Linked DNA regions of Homo sapiens: region 1 is linked to region 2. Evidence: promoter capture Hi-C in 16 types of primary human blood cells and fetal thymus (Javierre and others, 2016). All regions are on one chromosome and are shown on one strand. The core of a region is centred on a gene start or on the middle of the fragment in contact, and the rest is flanking DNA. Distances in the headings are between cores, read along the strand shown. Region 1 holds the start of KRTCAP2 (keratinocyte associated protein 2). Region 2 holds the start of EFNA4 (ephrin A4).

The links. Contacts are between HindIII fragments. The CHiCAGO score rates a contact against its expected background, and 5 or more counts as called.
Region 1: the fragment with the promoter of KRTCAP2 here is called in contact with the fragment with the promoter of EFNA4 in region 2 in 2 of 17 cell types (megakaryocytes and endothelial precursors); the score reaches 5.3 in megakaryocytes.

What each region holds. Positions count from the first base shown.
Region 1 is chr1:155,172,040-155,177,459 of GRCh38, forward strand. KRTCAP2 (keratinocyte associated protein 2) reads right to left here and starts at 1,265. Exons shown (of 5, transcript NM_173852.4): 1 at 1,182-1,265; 2 at 699-853; 3 at 526-589. The coding sequence starts at 1,185. It overlaps TRIM46 (tripartite motif containing 46), which reads left to right and starts at 1,810. Exons shown (of 10, transcript NM_025058.5): 1 at 1,810-1,990; 2 at 3,347-3,608; 3 at 3,849-4,192; 4 at 4,893-5,036; 5 at 5,156-5,251. The coding sequence starts at 1,928. RefSeq lists enhancers at 645-924, 1,028-1,536, 1,115-1,214, 1,415-1,464, 1,537-2,045 and silencers at 1,795-1,884, 2,054-2,348. The HindIII fragment of the contact is 8,946 bases long and covers 1,119-5,420 here.
Region 2 is chr1:155,062,490-155,067,879 of GRCh38, forward strand. It overlaps EFNA4 (ephrin A4), which reads left to right and starts at 1,251. Exons shown (of 4, transcript NM_005227.3): 1 at 1,251-1,447; 2 at 4,241-4,527; 3 at 4,883-4,951. The coding sequence starts at 1,335. ADAM15 (ADAM metallopeptidase domain 15) reads left to right here. Exons shown (of 23, transcript NM_207197.3): 23 at 1-286. The coding sequence ends at 13. It overlaps EFNA4-EFNA3 (EFNA4-EFNA3 readthrough), which reads left to right and starts at 1,251. Exons shown (of 5, transcript NM_001407761.1): 1 at 1,251-1,447. The coding sequence starts at 1,335. DCST1-AS1 (DCST1 antisense RNA 1) reads right to left here and starts at 1,502. Exons shown (of 4, transcript NR_040773.1): 1 at 1,268-1,502. It also overlaps ADAM15-EFNA4. RefSeq lists silencers at 652-741, 1,122-1,271, 1,562-1,711 and an enhancer at 2,202-2,703. The HindIII fragment of the contact is 1,420 bases long and covers 1,100-2,519 here.

The sequences.
Region 1 (5,420 bases), core at 15-2,514, 110 kb after region 2:
TTCTTGATTACATGAGCAATTGAACAAGAATTATTCCAAACAGGAAATAATCTAACAGTTATTCTGATTTGGTCAGGATTCCTGCTGCCATAGATATTTGGTGCCTCTAGTATTTAGGCTCTTCACAATTCCCTCAAATAAGTAGAATTCTCTAATATTGAGTTAACTTCACATCAGAACTCCATAGTGAACTTGGTCCTGCTGCTTCTTCTGGTGGGAACAAGGACCGCCTCCCAGCGAATAGATGCAAAACATCAGCCCAAATTTGCCTGTTCCCCTCAAACCTTCCCTGGGAGCTGGCCAGAAGGTACCAAAGTTTCTTGCTTTCAAAGGCCTTCTCTTCCAGCTCCAACTCCAGGAGCTATACAAGGTGCAGAATCGAAAAGCGTCATCTGTCTTCAGACAGCTTCAGTAAATATATTTCTCCTTAACAACCTTTCACCTAAGCATCTGGAAATTCAATATCATGTTTCAGGAGGTTAAAGAGGAGAAAGTTCAAATACTCAAGCTCCAATATTCACTTACTCTCAGGGAAGATCTTTGCTTGGAATCCTTTGCCAAAGACAAGATTCTCCAGATTATTGAAGGCCTGGTTGAGGGAGTTAAGGAGTAGGGTGTGCAACGGGGACAGAGCTGTGTGGGGAAGGGGAAGGGCACATGCCTACGTGGCCCGCCCCCTCCAACTGCAGGGAGGATACAGTGAGCGAGAACACGAAGAGACCCGAACCAAGCAGGCCGCCCTGGATGGTGAGCCACTCGGTGGAGGCCAGCTGACGGCTGTACATCTGCATCCCAGCAAAGAGCAGCAGGGACAGGAGGGAGGAGAGCGCCAGCGAGGTGCCCGTACCCACCACTGGAGGGGATGGGAGAAGGGACGGAGAGTCAGGCTCCGCCCTCCCTCCGGCAAGCTACGGGCAGATCAGCCGGTCCGGAAGCTCGGTGGGCCGACCCCCTCCAAGAACTCCCGGGACTGCAGCCACACGCCCCAACTCCCCACACCGCGCGGCAACCCCTACGTATTCCCCAGCCCCGGACACCCCGAACCCTCCCGTCCGGTGGAAATGCCCGCTCCCGGTGGAACCCAGGACACGTCAGCTCTGTCGGGAGAGGACGAGGAAAGCTTGTCCACCCAAACCCCGACCCCCTCTAGGACTTCCTGGGGACCCCACCGGTCCTGTTACCCATCATGCCCCGCCCGTGAGTCCAACCGGCGCCTCTGGCCAAGAAAGGCGAGCTGAACCGGGTGCGGTTAGCTATGCGCATGCGTCAGCGCTTACCGCGGACTTGCTACTCCTCGCGTTCTCCTCTTTCTTCCTCTCAGTGCCTGGACGCAGCGCCCTCTTGCGACAGGGAGGAAATAATGCGTCGAGGGGGCATCCTCGGCCACCGCCCTGGTCCTCAGGCTTTCCTCGTACCTGGTGCGTCTGCTGCCACTCTGTACAAGGTGCACTTATCTCTTTAAGTCATTGGGCCCATGCCTGTGGCATCTATCCCATCTCTGTCTTCTTTGCCATTTCTTTCATCTCTAGTGCACGTTCCTCAAACCTCCCTGCCCCATGCCTCAACATCTCCCAACCTAAAATTTAGTGCTCCCAACCAGGAACTCATTTTCCTCCGAAACTAATCCCCCGCTTTATATGAGTAAAATTAGGAGCCAATGAAAAATGAGAATGTAAGAAATGGCTCCCCCGTCAAATACCTTTCCATATTCCCCAACCCCCCGACCGGCTTTCGAGAACCACGTGGGGAGAACTATTTCCCACCCCCTACCCCGACGGGCGCTGTTCGAGGCTGGTCCCGGGAGCATGCGCAGTGACACCTCAACCCCCAGCCCTCCTCACACCCCCACTGGGCTCCTGCATTAAGCCCGGGGTTCGCAGCCGCAGCCGGGATCGGGCACCCAGGGGCGGGCGGGCACGGTAGGGCCATGGCAGAGGGTGAGGATATGCAGACCTTCACTTCCATCATGGACGCACTGGTCCGCATCAGTGTGAGTTAAGGTGGGGTCGAGGGAAGGGGAGGGGGCGTATAGGGTTCTGGGGCAAGCTGGGACCTGGAACAGGTGGGGATCCAGGAAGATGCTGGGATGTAGACAGGGGGCTAGCGATGGCAGAAACGGCTGGGAGGGTCGGGATGCAGGTATGAGAGGGTAATCCCGGGAGCAGCCCGGAGGTGAGTGCCGTGAAGGCGTCGGTGTGCTGGAGCGTGAGGAGGAGCTAGGAGCAGCCCAGACGCAGCGGGTGGGCTGGGGTGGCCTCCAGCAGTGCACCGGGGCTGGGGCTTCAGGGGAAAGGCCCTGTTATGAGAAGAGGGACGTGTGAGCTTGGATATTTTCCAAGAAAACTGAGGACAGGTGGGGGATGATGTAGGAGCCGCCCCACAGTGCAGTTCCCAATTTGGACCCCTCCCCAAGACCCCACCCCACGCACCCCCACTCAGGGCTGCTTCCGAGCCTGCGGTTGTCATGGCAACCCGTGCCTGGCTCTCCCAGGGGCGGTGCCAACCGTGTTCCCCCCCACCACTTCCTCCCCCCCTCCTTGTTCCTCCCTCCTTTGTGTCAGCTGCGCCCCTGACCGGGATGGCTGCGAAGAGAGGGACCAAGGTGAGGTGTGGGGGTGGGGCATAGCCTGAGGACCCCCACTCTCGCCACCAAGAGGGGGAGGGGACTTCCGGTGGGGAGGGGGCGAGTAGGCGGGGCTCTTGATTCCCCCGCTAGTTCGGAGAAGGGGGTGCCGCTGACCGGGTTGCGCTGCGGGAGAGGGCGGGAGGGCCTGATGGGGGCGAAGGGGAATGGGTTGGTAAGACCGATGGGGAAGTGAAGGATGGGGAATGGAGGCTGGAGTGGCCGCAGGCCGGAGCTGCGGCAGGAGGACGTATGGAGCGAGCAGGATGGAGTGCCAACCTCGCCTGGCTATCGGGAGGAATCACGGCATGGGGGTGCTGCTAGAGAAGGGAGTGGGGGTCTGCATGGAGCTGCAGAATGGGCGGTGTCCTTGAGAAAAATGCCAGGGGCAAGCTGCCCAGAGATGGGGGATGGAGGCAGGTGAGGGGGCTGCCAGCTGGGGCTACTGCAGCTGGAGAAATGGGGATTGGGCTTGAGGCTGGAGCAGGCACAAGCTCCAACCGTCCCTCCTCTGGGCCTTTAGCTCTGCAGCGGGGAAAGAGAAGCAAGGGACAGAGGTCTGGGAAGGTCTGTGAACCAGCCCAAGGCAGGTGCTCTGGAAAAGCTGCAGGTAGCTTGTCTTGCTCCTTCCTCAGACCCCTAGGGTATCCAAGGGCAGCCAAGGGGCTGCTGAGGTATGCCTAAGTGTCCAAGCGCTGACCTAGCCTCCTGGTCCCTCCACAGACCAGCATGAAGAACATGGAGAAGGAACTGCTGTGCCCAGTGTGTCAAGAGATGTACAAGCAGCCACTGGTGCTGCCCTGTACCCACAACGTGTGCCAGGCCTGTGCCCGAGAGGTCTTGGGCCAGCAGGGCTACATAGGACATGGTGGGGACCCCAGCTCCGAGCCCACCTCTCCTGCCTCCACCCCTTCCACCCGCAGCCCCCGCCTCTCCCGCAGAACTCTCCCCAAGCCAGACCGCCTGGACCGGCTGCTTAAGTCAGGTGGGACTGGGGCCTGTAGGGTGGGGATGGGAACGCTGAGCTATTCATCAGGAAGATGGAAGAAGTCCATCACTGGTCAGAGGCATCTGTCTGTCTTTCTGGGGGGTGGAGATACTGCTTACGCAGGCTCTAATGAGAGCTGAGCTCTGGCACAATGAAAATCTAATTTAATTAAACAGGCTTCCCCACACCCAGCCAGCTGTAACTCTCATGTCCTCTACCTCCCTGGTTCACCCACAGGCTTTGGGACATACCCTGGGAGGAAGCGAGGTGCTTTGCACCCCCAAGTGATCATGTTCCCGTGCCCAGCCTGCCAAGGTGATGTGGAGCTTGGGGAGCGGGGTCTGGCAGGGCTTTTCCGGAACCTGACCCTGGAGCGTGTGGTGGAGCGGTACCGCCAGAGTGTGAGTGTGGGAGGTGCCATCCTGTGCCAGTTGTGCAAGCCCCCACCACTAGAGGCCACCAAGGGCTGCACAGAGTGCCGCGCCACCTTCTGCAATGAGTGCTTCAAGCTCTTCCACCCCTGGGGCACCCAGAAGGCCCAGCATGAGCCCACCCTGCCTACCCTCTCCTTCCGACCCAAGGTGAGCCAGCCCTTCCAAGGCCTGGGGAGGGAGGGACATGCTGCTGCAGGTGGGTGGGGGTGCCTGGCATTGTGGGTTTCCAAAAGGAAGTGGGAAGGGTTTTCCAATGCTAAGCACCTATCTCTGTAATCTGTCACAAAGTCACTGGACAAATCATTCAACAACTTTGGGCCTCCATCTCATTTACATCCCTGTAGGGGGATGGTAGTATCTGCCCTGCAATGTCCATACCTAAAGGGTTGCTGAGAGGATGGTGTGAGATAATGTTTGTTCACTAAAAAGTGTTACCTGCACACTGAAAAGGTCTGTGTGCATTCACTCACTGAACAAATATTTATTGAGCACCTATGTGCATGGTGCTATTCTAGGTGTTGGAGATACAGCAGTAAACAAGATGGACAAGGTTAATTATTAACTACCAGGCAAAGATTAATTGGCATCATTATTACTGTTATTACCATATATCCCAATGAGAGAGATGAAGGGAGGTGCAATGCTGGTGAAATGGGCACCGCCCGGAGACTGCAGGAAAGGCTCTTTGATGCCAGTATGTACCACCAGGTGGCACTGTGGAGCACCACCAGCGGATGTCTCCACTCCCATCTTGCCAGTGGAGGAGGGCACCAAACTGCTGTAGTGGTAGCATAGCACCCTTACCCACACCATTGTCTGACCATCACATTGTTCTTTGTGTCCCTAGGGCCTTATGTGCCCAGACCACAAGGAAGAGGTGACCCACTACTGCAAGACATGCCAACGCCTGGTATGTCAACTCTGCCGGGTGCGGCGCACCCACAGCGGGCACAAGATCACACCAGTGCTCAGTGCCTACCAGGCCCTCAAGGTAAGGACCCCCCTTATCCAACCCTAGTGCTAACTCACACTCTTACCCTCTTGCACCTCCTCCCAACTGCTGGCTTCTGCAGAGCTGGGCTTGATGCCCACCTCTTTCTTCCCCCTCAGGACAAGCTGACAAAGAGCCTGACATACATCCTGGGAAACCAGGACACGGTACAGACCCAGATCTGTGAGCTGGAGGAGGCCGTGAGGCACACCGAGGTGAGGGAGGGCACAGAGGTAGGCCCTGGGCCCTGCCTGGGAGTAGGGGCAGGAAGGGGGTGTGGGTGATCATGACCCAATCACCTTGTTGCTAGCTCAGGAAGCCCGTGAGGTGTCCAGGTTCTGGTTAAACCAGGTTTGCAGGAACACCAGTGCCCCAGGCCAGGCT
Region 2 (5,390 bases), core at 1-2,500:
GCTCTACCTCTGACCTCTCCGGAGGTTCCGCTGCCTCCAAGCCGGACTTAGGGCTTCAAGAGGCGGGCGTGCCCTCTGGAGTCCCCTACCATGACTGAAGGCGCCAGAGACTGGCGGTGTCTTAAGACTCCGGGCACCGCCACGCGCTGTCAAGCAACACTCTGCGGACCTGCCGGCGTAGTTGCAGCGGGGGCTTGGGGAGGGGCTGGGGGTTGGACGGGATTGAGGAAGGTCCGCACAGCCTGTCTCTGCTCAGTTGCAATAAACGTGACATCTTGGGAGCGTTCCCCAGAGTTTGTCTGCTTCTAGAACCCGGGTCGCTCCTGCTGCGGTTCCAGGTTTGGCCGCCAGAAGACGCTGCCGCCTCAGACGAGGGCGGGCTGTGTGGGGCGGGAGTACCAGAAAGGGTCGGCGTGTGTCCCCGGGATGCTCGCAGCTTCCCTCTGCCCAGACTGGGGTGGCTTTCGGCGCAATCTGTCAAGCTGTTGGACCTGCCGTCCCCACTCTGACCATTGGCTGGGAAAAGTGGATCTGGCTGATGCTCCCAGAGCCCAGGAGCCAGGGCGGAGCGGGGCGGCGGCTGCTCCCACGATCCCAAGGCCGCGCACCTGCCTCCTCCCCCTCCGCCGCCGCCACCTGAGGGATCGGGAACAAAGGTGCTTTGTACAGGCCGCAACCACCTCATTACTTCGTCTTAGGGACTGGGGCCGCGTGGGCCCCCAGCCCGGAACGAAGGTGTGGAGCGGCAAGGGACAGACGCCAATCCTAAAGTGAGCATCTAGCGCGCCACCTAAGGCTCTTTAGGGAAGGTGGTCCCAGAGCTGTGTTGTCCCTTCCGCTTGCACTGTCCCTAGATGTGCAAAGAAAACGGGGCAGTGCATGAAGGTGGTTGGACAGGCTTCATGGATCCTCGCCCGCGCCTCACTTTCCCCTATCTGGGCAAAGGTTATGTACCCTTATTTAAAATCTTCCAAACTTCTAATAAGGCAGTCTACCCTGCACTAAAGCAGACACGAAAGAGATGACCTCCCTAAAAATACTGCTGTTGGAATACGTCCTTCCTTCCCGCCCCCTCGCAGTGCGGTGCAGCCTCAGTGGAAGCTTTGGCGAACCTGGCGCGCGCTGCGGTGCACAGAGGGTTAACTGGAGTTGGCGCTGGGTGGAGAGGAGGAGACGCGCTCCCATTGGCGGAAAGTTATTCAGGGGCGGGGTCAGTGAATCTCCGTACCCCACTCCCCTTTCCGCAACTTCCCTCTTCACTTTGTACCTTTCTCTCCTCGACTGTGAAGCGGGCCGGGACCTGCCAGGCCAGACCAAACCGGACCTCGGGGGCGATGCGGCTGCTGCCCCTGCTGCGGACTGTCCTCTGGGCCGCGTTCCTCGGCTCCCCTCTGCGCGGGGGCTCCAGCCTCCGCCACGTAGTCTACTGGAACTCCAGTAACCCCAGGTAGCCGGGCCGAACCGGGCGAGCGCACAGCCAAGTCTGCGCGCTCCCGGGCTTTGCGCGCGCCCGCCACCCGCTCTTTGCGCGGCGCCGCCTGAGCCTGGCCGCGCGCCGGGGCTCCTTTGTTTGAGCCGGCGGGGGAGGGGGGAGGGGCGAGGGGCGAGGCGCGCCCTGGGTCTCCCCACAGCCCGCATGTGTTGGGGGGCAGGCAGAAGACCCCAGCCCCAAGGGTTGTCTAGGGGGTCTTGGAGCATGGAGCTGGGGGGGCCTTTGCCCGCACTCCGGGCTCCGCCCCCCTCGCTGCTCTCCTGGCGATCCCCAGCCTCCCGCAGGCTGGAGCTGTGGCTGACGAACTTGAGAGCGAGGGAGGGGGCTTTACTCTTATGAAAGAGCGTGGGTTACTCTCCTGCCCGCTGGGTCTCACCTCTGGCTCTCACTCTGTCTCCTGATCTCATTTGCTATCTCTGCTTTCATCTCTGTCTTTATTGGTCCTTCTGTTTCTTTCCAGTGTCAGCCCTGCCCTTCTAGCCGAATCACCTCTGGGCAAGTCTCGTGACCTTCCTAACCTCATTTATCTCACCTGTATAATGGGCTAATAATACCTAGTACCCTGGGAAGTCTGGCAGGGTAAGTGAGGTCATGTATGTGAAAGAGGCTCAGGCTGTACAGATATAAACTATTATTTCTTTCTCTCTCCTGAGCTGCCTGCCTTTGAACCTTAGTATATTTTACTGTTTCCATCCCCCTCCCCAAGTCTCCCTGCCTCTCCTATTTCCTATCTGTTTTTCTTTCTGATTTTCTACTTGAGACAATCTGTGACTATTCATTTCTTCACTCACTAACATTTATTTATTAAACACATACTGTGTGTGCCCGGCCCTGTGCTAGGTTGCAGGGGATTAACTATATAGATGAGAAGATCAAGACCCTGCCCTCTGGGATTCCACAGACTCTCTGGAGAACAGGCGCAGGCAGGAGAGCCTGCATAAAGACAGGTCATTACAATACCAATAACAAGTGATAAGAGCTTTTGTTGTCCTTGGACTCTGAATTCTCTATCTCTGTCACAGACCAAAGCTTCTGAATCACTTGGAGGACCTGTTAAAAATTCAGGTTTCTCACCCCCCAATCTTAAGGTTTCTGGCTCATTCATTCAATCCACAAATATTTATTGAACACTGTCCTGTGCTGGGCACTTTTCCAGGCACGGGGGATGCAGTAGAACAAAACTTACCAAGGCCCTGTCCTTGCTCAGCTTGCGTTCTAGTAAGTCTGGGCTGGCTGAGCCCAGGAATCTTCATTTCTAATCAGAACTGATACAGGTCGTCCTTGGACCACCCACTGGAGGCTTTTCCTAAGTCATGCTTCGCTGTGTTTGTGGTATGGGGGGTGGTTCATGCAGCATTCAGTACTGTGGGGAGCAGCCCCTTCCAGCCCTTCCCACCTGTGCTGGCTTCCCCAGGCAGCTCCCAAGAGGTGGGGAAGGGAGTCCTGAGAAGACTGAAGACTGGGTAGTATGTGGACTCCCCCCATGCCTGGCACTTGCTCCTCCTGGCCAAAAAAGGGAGGCACCTAGCACCCACTCCCTCATTCTTTTTTTTTTTTTTTTTTTAATTTTTAGAATTTAGAGACAGGGTCTTGCTCTGTCACCCAGGCTGTAGTGCGGTGGCATAATAGCTCACTACAGGAACTTGCGGACTCTAAGGATCCTCCCGCCTCAGCCTCCCAAGTAGCTGGGACTACAGGAGTGCACCACCACTCATGGCCTTTATTTATTTATTTATTTATTTATTTATTTATTTATTTATTTATTTTTTGAGATGGAGTCTCGCTCTGTCTCCCAGGCTGGAGTGCAGTGGCGCAATCTCGGCTCACTGCAAGCTCCGCCTCCCGGGTTCACGCCATTCTCCTGCCTCAACCTCCCAAGTAGCTGGGACTACAGGTGCCCGCCACCACGCCCGGCTAGTTTTCTTTTTATATTCTTAGTAGAGACGGGGTTTCACCGTGTTAGCCAGGATGGTCTTGATCTCCTGACCTCATGATCCGCCCGCCTCAGCCTCCCAAAGTGCTGGGATTACAAGCGTGAGCCACCGCGCCCAGCCTATTTATTTATTTATGGTAGAGACAGTCTCACCATGTTGCCCAGGCTGGTCTTGAACTCCTGGCCTCAAGCGATCCTCCCACCTCGGCCTCCCAAAGTGCTGGGATTCAGATGTGAGCCACCACACCTGGCCTCCCTCATTCTTTTTTTACCGTGACATTCTTTTCACCCTTGGGTTGAAGTCAGTCTAAAGGACAGTGTTCCTCACTTTATATCTGTTTGAGGAGACCTTTCCCAACCCCTGTTTCCACCTCTGTGTCTGCAGCTGCACTGTGTGCAACTGTACCTCCTGCCTCTCTGCCCAGCTTCTTCACAGCATCCATCCACCTGACATTGATCAAGCCTGGTGCTATACCACATTGAGTGTTGGGCACTGGAGCTAGAGAGGTGTGTGGCAGCTCCAGCCTGTAGGACAGGGTGTGGTGACCCTCCTTCTCACATCTAAGCTGTGTGGTTATGGGCACTGCAGGTCTTAGCCTCTCGGAACCTGTGAATCGATCATCTCATCCATTTCTTGCACTCTCTTTGTCTCTCAAGAGTTGTCAGTCTGGGAACCTCGGGCCTTCCTGAGCTGCTCCATCGCACATGGGTGGAGGAGAGGCTGGCAGGGGCCTCTGAGAAGGGGTGTCTCTGGCATCCATGGCCATGGCGTGGTGCCCTCCACTCCTCAGCCCACCCCTGCGTTATGCCTGCAGGTTGCTTCGAGGAGACGCCGTGGTGGAGCTGGGCCTCAACGATTACCTAGACATTGTCTGCCCCCACTACGAAGGCCCAGGGCCCCCTGAGGGCCCCGAGACGTTTGCTTTGTACATGGTGGACTGGCCAGGCTATGAGTCCTGCCAGGCAGAGGGCCCCCGGGCCTACAAGCGCTGGGTGTGCTCCCTGCCCTTTGGCCATGTTCAATTCTCAGAGAAGATTCAGCGCTTCACACCCTTCTCCCTCGGCTTTGAGTTCTTACCTGGAGAGACTTACTACTACATCTGTGAGTGGCCAAGGGCACACTGGACACCTCTTGTGTACCAGAAGGGTAGGGAGGGGGAAGGAGAGGCCTGGAAGGAGGAGGGGGCTGGGTCTCTAATGTACATCGGGTTGAGGTATGGGCTGAACTCAGGACTGAGGAGGGAAATGTCTAGAAAGGAGAAAGTAGGAGGAGCTAGGAAAGGGGGCCAGGGAGATGAGAGGACTGGATGGGGCCTGATACATGGGTGTGGCCCCAAAGTAAGGAAACGCTTTCCAGGGACCTGGAGAGAAGAAAACCTGGGAGGGTCTGAAACAGTCTGAGGCATACAAAGGGGTGACTCCCTGTGCTAACTTTTTCCCACTTTCCCACTACCCAGCGGTGCCCACTCCAGAGAGTTCTGGCCAGTGCTTGAGGCTCCAGGTGTCTGTCTGCTGCAAGGAGAGGAGTAAGTGGGTTGGGAGCATGGACCCTACTGGCTAATGTGGGGCCTTGGGAAGGAGGGAAGGAGTGAGAAGAATCTAGGAGGATCAGACTCCAGGGGTCCTGGTGAAGCTTCAAGCTGTGGTCTCTTCTCCCCATTTAGCCTTGAGGGAGCTTCTACTGCACCATCCTCTCCCCACTTCTGTTTTGTTTTGTTTTGGTTTTAGACGGAGTCTCGCTCTGTTGCCCAGGCTGGAGTGCAGTGGCTCGATCTCAGCTCACTGCAAGCTCCGCCTCTCTGGTTCACGCCATTCTCCTGCCTCAGCCTCCGGAGTAGCTGGGACTACAGGCACCCGCCACCACACCCGGCTAATTTTTTGTATTTTTAGTAGAGATGGGGTTTCACCGTGTTAGCCAGGATGGTCTCGATCTCCTGACCTTGTGATCTGCCCACCTCAGCCTCC